Regions from separate parts of the Homo sapiens genome. Here all the other regions are linked to region 3. The links are contacts of gene promoters, found by promoter capture Hi-C in human tissues and cell types (Jung and others, 2019). All regions are on one chromosome and are shown on one strand. The core of a region is centred on a gene start or on the middle of the fragment in contact, and the rest is flanking DNA. Distances in the headings are between cores, read along the strand shown.

Region 1 (3,394 bases), core at 230-2,729, 77 kb before region 3:
TTGCCTAGCCAAAACTGTCTATTCCCCAGTTTAAAACTTTCCCTTCTTTTTTCCTCGCAAGTCATTCCACTTCCTTGATTTCCTCAGCATGACTGACTTGAAGAGAAAGTCCATCTGACAAACAGTGTGCTAAGGGAAACAGTCATAGAATCATAGAGCCGGGACGGATGGGGCAGGCCATCCTGGCCAGAGATGACAAACCCTGCGCCAAGGATTTTGATTTATTTTTAAGTTCAAATGTGGAGGCCTTCCCTTGGGTTATGTTTTTTCTATTTCTCCGCAGCCCCATGATTCCTTATCATTTCACAACTACCCGCTTAAATCAGTTATGTTACCTGTGAGCCTTGAGGTGGATACTTCTGAGTGTATTGAGCCCCCACTCATTGCCCTCACTTTAGAGATTAGGAAGCTGAGGCTCAAAGAGGTGGCATAACTTTCTTAATATGTTCAATCTCCAAGGTGTATTGGCTTTTTTAAGTATGGGAGCCGTAGGGGAAACTTTGAGGAATAAATCTCAGATGGCGGGGAGCTGCCCAGGATCACATCGTTTGTCTGCTGGCTGGACTCTCTAAGCAATTTTTTCATGGTTTCCCTAACTGTAAAATGCGGGCATGGGACTCCTTCACTTCAGATATTCCTTCTGGTTTCTTCATTCTCTGATTCCTTCTCTAGAGAAGTTGGGGAGATTCCACTGACAAAGGTTAATTGTTAGAATCTCTCAGGAATTCACACCTTAGCAAAGTGTGTACACCGTAAACAACTGGATCAAAGCAGATTAGAATCATTTTCCCACTTGTCTGATAGTTAATACCTGAGAAACTGATTGGATTGCTATATGATCCCTCTAATTTAGATAAGATGGCCTAAACAATTAGATCGACCCTACAGTAGTCACTAAATTGAATCAGCACTGGCATCTCATTTTGGCTCTGTTATCACCACGTGATCACACGATTTGTAGACAGGTGTCTATTGCCCTAAATTCTGCATTATAGGTGTGTCATAAAAAATATGGCTGACCTCTATCTTTGGTTCCAGGAAGGTAGTCTCTAAACTTTTGGAATTTCTCATTTTTTTTTAAGAGAGTGTCTTTGTTATTCACAGTAGGCTCCCTTGACCACACCTGATAGTTTATGGTAATGAAGTGACTCAAGGTGGGCCTCTAGAGAGTTTATGCTAAGGAGATAACCCAGGATGTGGGCTGACCATGCCAGAAAGACCAAACATGTGATTAGAAAGTTGGAGTTTTGGGTCAGCAGTATTAGCTCAACTTCTGGGAAGGGATGAGGGGGAAAAAATGAGTTCAGTCATATGGCTATGATTCAGTTAATCATGCCTATGTAATTAAACCCCCAAAAAAGTCTGGTCACCAAAGCTTGGGTGAGCTTCCCTGTTTGGCAGTGTGAACACAAATTGACACACATAGATGTTCTAGGAGGACAAAGCTTTGGGTTTGAGACCCTCCCAGACCTCATGTTTCTCTGCCTTTGGCTGGTTCTGATTTGTGTCTTTTTGCTATAATAAAACTATAATCATAAGTGAAGGCTGGGCTTGGTGGCTCACACCTGAAATGCCAGCACTTTGGGAGGCTGAAGCAGGGAGATAACTTAAGGCCAGAAGTTTGAGACCAGCCTGGCCAACATGGTGAAACCCCATCCCTACTGAAAATACAAATATTAACTGGGCGTGTTGGCATACACCTGTAATCCCAGCCACCTGGGAGGCTGAGGCATGAGAACTGCTTGAACCGGGGAGACGGAGGTTGCAGTGAGCCAAGATCTCACCATTGCACTCCAGTCTGGGCAGCAGAGTGAGACTCTGTCTCTTAAAAAAATAAATAAATAAGTGAAGTGCTTTCCTGAATACTGTGGGTCATGCTAGCAAATTTTTGAACCTGAGTGGTGAGTGAGAGGCCTTGAATTTGTAGCCAGCTGGTCAGAAGTGGGGGTACCCTGAACTTGCAGCTAGTATCTGATAAAAGGACAGTCTTGTAGAGGACTGTGTCCTTAACCTATGAAGTCGGGCCCAATTCCAGGTAGTAGGGGAAAAAAAAAGGTAAGAAATAAGAGCTTACGTGGAGAGGGGCTGGTAGGTGATGTTAGCAGCAGCAGCGAATCCATATGGGTCTGCAGCAACCTCAGTTCTTCCTTGTCAGAAGAAAGAATTCGACTGAGAGGCATAAGGCAGAAGGAGAGACTAAGGCAAGTTTTAGAGCAGGAGTGAAAGTTTATTAAAAAGCTTTAGAGCAGGAATGAAAGGAAGGAAAGTACACTTGGAAGAAGGCCAAGTGAGTGACTTGGGAGATCAAGTGCATAGTTTGCTCTTTGACTTGGGGTTTCATATGTTGGCCTGCTTCCAGGATTGCATCCCTCCTCCCCGGATTCTTCCCTTGGGGTGGACTGTCCACATGCATAGTGGCCTGCTAGTGCTTGGGAGGGGAGCATGCACAGTGTGTTTACTGGAGTTGTGCACATGCTCACTTGAGGCATTCTTCCCTTACCAGCCAAATGTCCCTAGGAGGTCATATACCAGTTAAATGCCCCCACTTCGCTTCTTAATGTGCATGTTTGAGCCCACTCACCCAGCTCCTGAGGTCCTATCAGGAAGCTGTTGATCACTAGTTTCAGGTGTTCCTGTGTATTGGGAGACTGCTTTTCCCTGGCACTGTCTGTGACCAATGATTATTTTAGAGACAGCTTAACAACCTCCTGAACATCACCTGATGGTTGCCTGACATTCCTGGGGGAATGTTGGAGTGGGAGTGGGGGGAAGCCCTGTCCTGCTCTGCTCATGTCTGATTAGCTACCTCTGTAACAGAGAGAAGAAATTCTAAGAAGGCTCCAGGACTATGCCTTCCACATATCCAGGACGTGGTTTCCCATATGTCTGTGGGCTCTCCTCTCTGCTCTCTTCACCCCATCCTGGGCCCTAGTTCTCCATTCTGGAAAAAGCCACAGATTCTTTGGGGAGATGGTCTGATTAATAGCTCATGGTCTGATTAATAGCTTTCAGGATGAGCAAAATATTGATCCAGAGTGTGGGCTCTGGAGCAGACTGCATGGGTTCAAATCCTGGCATTACTCTTAATCATCTGTGTGACTCTAAGGAGAATCACTTAAGCTCTCTGTCTGTTTTGTCATCTAGAAAATGGGGATAATAACAACCCTTGCCTCACGAATTAAACGAGCAGTTACATACAAAGCGCTTAAAAATTGCCCAGAGCCTGTGGAGATGTAGGAATGCTTTTACACTGTTGGTGGGAGTTTAAATTAGTTCAACCATTGTGGAAGACACTGTGTCGATTCCTCAAGGATCTAGGACCAGAAATACCATTTGACCCAACAATCCCATTACTGGGTATATGCCCAAAGTATTATAAATCATTCTACTATAA
Region 2 (3,012 bases), core at 277-2,776, 100 kb after region 3:
CAGTGATTGTTCTTTCAAAGAAAGATTACCCCACAGCAGACAGAGTTACATTTGAGAAACTGTTGGAAATATTACACACAGCCAGATTCAGTTCAGCTCATTCAGTTTCACTCAATGTATCAAGCCTACATGACATTTCTATAAACACATGGCACTGAATTAGAGGCTGGGGATACGAAGATGGACAAAGCATAGTCCTGCTCACTAGGGGCTCTGAGTCTAATGGGAAAGATGAAAATGTAAACAAAGGAGCACTTTTCAGTATGAGGGATGCTGTAATAGAAGTGGTAGACAAGGTGTGGGGAATGAACATTAATAAGGAAGTTAATTACCTGAGGTCAAGAAAGGCATTACAGAAAATTGATGCTTCAGTGGAGAGTTTGAAAATGAATTGGTGCTTGCCCACTGGACAGAGAGGAAGAGCACTTCTGGCAAAGCTAAGAACACAGAACAAAAGCACAGAGACAAAAAATGATCTGGTCAAGCAGAAACTTTCTGGTATATTTAGGGAACAACAGGTATGGTCTGAATACAGAGTTTGAGATAGAAAGAATGGTAGGAGAGGAGGATGGAGGCAAGGGGCATGAGAGAGAGGTTGTGAATGGCATTGTATGAAATTGTAGAAATAGCCGTTGGCCACCTACCCAACACTTTTTCCCACTTTGTTAATTCTGTTCACGTGATCCACCCCCACACAGTTGTAGACTTCTTTAAGCCAGTCACAGTGATCTAATTTCTCTTGTCAGTGGCTTGTTTTAAGATTTGTGCAGAGGCAAAAGAGATGCAAAGAGATGTGTGTGTGTTGAGAGTCCTGTAGGAAAAGATGCTCTACTCTCCTGCTAGAAGTTGTCATGTTTGCATCTGAGGCAGCCATCTTGTGACCATGAGGATGGCTGGCTTGAAGACAAGCTGACTTGCTGAGAGTGATAGAGCAGAAAGATGAAAAGCTGCTGGGGCCTTGGAGTCACTTTCCCTTAGGACAGTTTGTTATGTGAAATAAAACGTTTCCTCATTGTTTCATCATTTTGAATAGAGATTTCTGTTAAAGAAGGTTGAAAACACTTAATTAGATGGCATGATGTGTTGCAAAGTTGAGACTTTAGGTGACAGGAGAAAAGGAGTAATGTTGCATGAGTTTTGTTATAGGACATTCACTCTTATTTGTTAGTAGCCATGTTTCTTGCATTTAAATTTTAGATGCAGAAACTCATTCATTCATTCATTCACCTGGACTTTTTTTGAACTTTATATTAAGCACCATCTTAGATGCTGAAGATTCACTGTCAAATAAGATAGGATATCTCTTCTTAGGGGACTTGCAGTTTCTTAGCGGAGAGAGGTAAGTAAATCAATTTCACTGTGGTAGGTGAAGCTGTGGCAGGTGCTTTGATAAAGTTACCCCCAGGGTACTGTAGTCATGCTATAGGGGCTCCTAAGTCAGTTGTATAAATTGTGGAACATTTATCAAGGAGGTGTGATTGGACTGGACCAGTTGAAGACTCCTAAAGCAGTAGTTAGTCATCTGAAGAACTCTCTCTGGGCCTGTGCACCCTCCCATCCTTGACTTACTTGTTTCCACCGTGGTTCCTCTGACTTTAACTCATTTCTGGATGCTGGAGACCTGTTTCGGTGCTGATCCTGTCTCAGCTCTGCTAGATTTAGTTTCTTGCTTTGGTCTCTTGGATTGACTAGTTCATCTATTCTGACTTGCCTTTTCATTGGTTCTAGCTTCTGGAATCTTTCTGGGCAGGTGTTCATCTAGTTTTGATTTCACAGATTTGGGCTTTTTGCTGTCTATTTTTAGACATATTTATTCAGGAATTACCTGCTGAACACTTCTAGCTTGTCTGGGTTCTCCACACCTTGCCTTTCAATGGTCTATACATGGCATTAGTTGTCAGGGCACATAGGTTCAGTGTACTAATAATGAGTGTGGGTCACAGTCATATAGTCGTTTTGGGATTGATGTAGAGGGTCAGATTGGTTCAGAGAACTTTGGAGTAGGTAAAAATTAAACAGAAAATAATTGCCATCTTCCTTCTTGGCATCTTTGTTTTTAGGGGGTTTTGGGGGTCTCAAGACTTTTCAAACATCCAAAGAAGCTATATATGCATAACAGGATAACTTCCCATTTACTACAATTGTTTGCATTATGAATGATGTTGTTTAGTGTGGGGACAGTATTAACGACCTTTTAACATTATGTAAAAAGCCTTTTTCTAGAAGGTAAAAGCTAAAGAATTGTCTGGGGCTTATGCAGCCTTCCTGAGAATTGATTATGTGAAGTATCCCCTGAGGGGTAAGGAATGTGAGAAGGTAGGTGGCTTTTCTGAGGGCCCCTTACAGTTTTAACATAGCTTAATGTTTACCCTCTAGGATCACAGAGCTTGGAATTCAGTAGGTAGCACCAGGTTTGGTGGCTTATGCCTGTAATCCCAGCACTTTGGGAGGCTGAGGCAGGAAGATTGCCTGAGGCCAGGAGTTTAAGACCAGCCTGGGCAACATAGCGAGACCCCATCTCTTAAAAAAAAATTAGCCAGGTATGGTGGCACACACTTGTAGTCTCAGCTACTTGGGAGGCAAGAGGATCTACCTGAGGCAAGAGGATCTCTTGGGACCAGGAGCTCAAGGCTTCAGGGAGCTATGATCATGCCACTGCACTCTAGCACTCCAGCCTGGGTGACAGAGTGAGGCTCTGTCTTTAAGAAAAGAAAGAAAGTCAGTAGGTAGAAAGGTTTAAGGAAAAAGAAGACATAAGAGGTGCATAATATGTGTTTACTACTTTTTAAAAATTAGAGATGCCAAATATTAAGCTTCTTTCAATTACTATATATATTTTCATAAAGAATAACTCTACTGAACTTATGAAAACAATATAGCTCATTATAAAGAAGTCAAGCAGCAAAGAAAGGTACAAAGAAGAAAGCAAAAAAGTCACTCCGTATCCCACTATACAAAAATAACTATCATTAACAAAGGGCAATATCATCCTATGTATCTCTCTCTATAGAA
Region 3 (2,990 bases), core at 270-2,769:
GAGTGGGGCATGAACCTTCTCTCCTTGTTTTGAACCCAGCAATCTTACATATTGATCTAGTCTTTAGGAAATTAAACAAACAATGAAAAAGCTGACATTTTTATGGCACGTCAAAAGTCATAAGCAACTTCCCATACAATATTTCATTTAATTCAAACAATTTAGGAATTGTTACAACCCTAGAGGGGCTAAGTGACATGCTCAAGGCCACCGACTCATTGTGACACAGCTTTTTTGTTTGTTTTTGTTCTTTTGAGACAGCCTTACTCTGTCACCCATGCTGCAGTGCAGTGGTGTGAACATGGCTCACTACAGCCGCAACCTCCCAGGCTCAGGTGATCCTCCCACCTCAGCTTCCCAAGTAGCTGGGACCACAGGTGCATACCGCCACACTTGGCTATTTTTTTCATTTTTTGTAGAGACAGGGTCTCACCACATTGCCCAGGATGGTCTCCAACTCTTGAGCTCAAGCCATCCTCCCACCTTGGCCTCCCAAAGTGCTGGGATTACAGGTGCGAGCCAGCATCCCCGGCCCAGAGCTGGGTCTTAATACCGAGACTAACACCTTTTTCTTTCTCCAGGGAAGAAGGCAGAGGTCACAAAGGTGTGTGAAATGTTGAGCAGGGCAAATGGATCCTGGAGCCCAGGGTCAGAGCTGCTGAGCAAGAGAAAATGCATCTTATTTCTCAGTTTTATGAAGAATAAGCTTGAGATCTTGAATGCCTGGCTGGCTCACAAGAAGCTCAGGGGCAATAGAGGTCAAAGTTTTCTGGAGAGAGAAACTGCTCCTGGGGTCCTCCTTGACTGGGTTTGAGGCAGTGCCCTGGCCTGGGAGAGCGGGCACTGGGTCATCGGGATCCCTTTGTTTATTTGGGTGTTTTCTCTTCCCTATATGAAGCATACAGTGGTGAGTACTTGATAGGGCAGAGTCCTACCTGGTTGGCCAGGGAACAAAACGTTGCTGGTCTTTCCTTCAGAGTGGGGTTGTTAGACAACTTTGTCTAGAAACAGTCACTGTAAGGAACAGGTCAACGACAACTTGGGCAATAGGAACTGAAGAGGGAAGCTCAGTCGCTCCTGGAGGAGAGCCACAGTCCCTAAGGCAAGTTCCCTAACTGTCTGTGAAAAGTAGTATTCAGTAAAATGGGGGAGAGCACTAGAAGTGCTGTGAGGCAAAGGACTGAGGGTTGCTTTTCCTCCATGGAGCCTCCAAACTCTGTGTCATCCACAAAGACTACTTTGGTCTCATCTCTTTCAAGGAAGTACCAAGTGGGAAACCAAATATTGGGCTTTACAAAGCACATTTGAGTTAATGTTTGGCAGGGGATATCTGGATCCAAGGGCAGCTCACAGAGTGGGCCTCACTGACAAGGTGTGGGCCATGACTCAGATTCCTGGGTGTCCTGAACCTCCTGGGGCAGTTCACACGTTCCCTGGCCACTCCCTCTTTTCCTACATGCTGGCCATGGGGAAATCACCACTGGGCACTATAAGAAGCCCCTGGGCTCTCTGCAGAGCCAGCGGCTCCAGCTAAGAGGACAAGATGAGGCCCGGCCTCTCATTTCTCCTAGCCCTTCTGTTCTTCCTTGGCCAAGCTGCAGGGGATTTGGGGGATGTGGGACCTCCAATTCCCAGCCCCGGCTTCAGCTCTTTCCCAGGTGTTGACTCCAGCTCCAGCTTCAGCTCCAGCTCCAGGTCGGGCTCCAGCTCCAGCCGCAGCTTAGGCAGCGGAGGTTCTGTGTCCCAGGTGAGGAGGCCCCAGAATCTGAATGAGCTGCATTCATTCCCTTCCATTTGCTTTTGGGTACCTGAATACAATTTCATGGATGGCTAGACCTGGGCACTCTAAAAGATTTACGACTCATTTTGTTAACTATAGGTGCCCCGGAAATGAATTAAAGCCTCAGTAAAATAATTAAATTGTTAGCAAGAGAGACGATATCGCAGTTCTCCAGCTGGGACTTTTGGGAATATCTATGCTTTAGAGGAATTCTCAAATCTGGCTGCACATTAGAATGGGTGGCCGGGGGGACTCTAAAAGTACAGATGCCTGGGTTCTGTACTTAAAAAAATCCTACATAGATGTATACAAATCAAATATTTTAAAAAACCTCTCCCCAGGTGATTCTAATATATAGTCCAAGATGGGAACTGTTAGGGAAAGACTCTGTGAGTTGCAGCTCTGGGAAGTTTGTCCAGTTGTTTTGCTGCCTGGCAGGATCCCGGAATGGTGAACAGTAGCCCTCGAGGGAGTGAGAGCCGCAGTGCCCTAGTTGAAGCCCTGACCATTTCTCTTGGCCTGGTTTATAAAGGAGGTGGGTGTCAGAAATAAGGGGGGAGTTACTGGTCTTTAGCAAAGTGTTATTACCAGTGGACATTCGCCTAGGGGAGTGTTCACTCTTTGCAGTCTTCTTTACAGGGAATCTTCAGGACCATTTCCAGCTCCAAACAACAGTAGCAACAAACAAACAAAACCAAAAGTCATGCATTACAACGAGGCTGGTACAGCTAGGCTAAGTGCATTGAAGGCATAGTAAGCCAGTTCCGTGGGGGATGAGTCCTCTTTGGATCTCCTTTAAAGAAAGGAGAATGGGCTGGAGGGCATGAGAGGTTAGGAGGTAAGAAGCAGTTATTCATTTCACTCTGGGCCTTTCTGCGGGAACCCCACTCTGCAAACCTCCTAGGCTATTTTTGCTAAGGTATAACTTGGGGTGGGGGAGTCTTATCTGGGCCAAAGCTTCTCTCTCTAAGCCTCTAGGATCTTTCCTCACAGGTCAGGTAGCTGCTTACATTATCATGCTTGAATGGAAGGGCAAATGGGAGAAGGGGGAGGAAAAGACTTTTATTTGTTTTATTTTGACCATCAGAAATTACAGATAATAAAAATGTGATAATTAACAAATGATTTGGATAGGGCCTAGATAGAAACAGCAGCAATAACATTTACTGTGTGTCTAATAAATGCCAGGACTAGGTTAAGTACATAATAT

Evidence for each region. Contacts are between HindIII fragments. The study calls those that stand out against the background at their distance.
Region 1: a fragment that was not itself captured here is called in contact with the fragment with the promoter of OLFM4 in region 3 in 6 of the 25 tissues and cell types used here (H1 embryonic stem cells, mesenchymal stem cells, mesendoderm cells and 3 more).
Region 2: a contact is called between a fragment that was not itself captured here and the fragment with the promoter of OLFM4 in region 3, in 5 of the 25 tissues and cell types used here (bladder, dorsolateral prefrontal cortex, heart right ventricle and 2 more).

What each region holds. Positions count from the first base shown.
Region 1 is chr13:52,950,655-52,954,048 of GRCh38, forward strand. No RefSeq gene overlaps it. Among named protein-coding and RNA genes, the nearest start is that of OLFM4, 76 kb to the right of the region's middle. The HindIII fragment of the contact is 4,414 bases long and covers 1-3,394 here.
Region 2 is chr13:53,127,705-53,130,716 of GRCh38, forward strand. No RefSeq gene overlaps it. Among named protein-coding and RNA genes, the nearest start is that of LINC01065, 23 kb to the right of the region's middle. The HindIII fragment of the contact is 6,212 bases long and covers 1-3,012 here.
Region 3 is chr13:53,027,294-53,030,283 of GRCh38, forward strand. It overlaps OLFM4 (olfactomedin 4), which reads left to right and starts at 1,520. Exons shown (of 5, transcript NM_006418.5): 1 at 1,520-1,747. The coding sequence starts at 1,544. The HindIII fragment of the contact is 5,150 bases long and covers 2-2,990 here.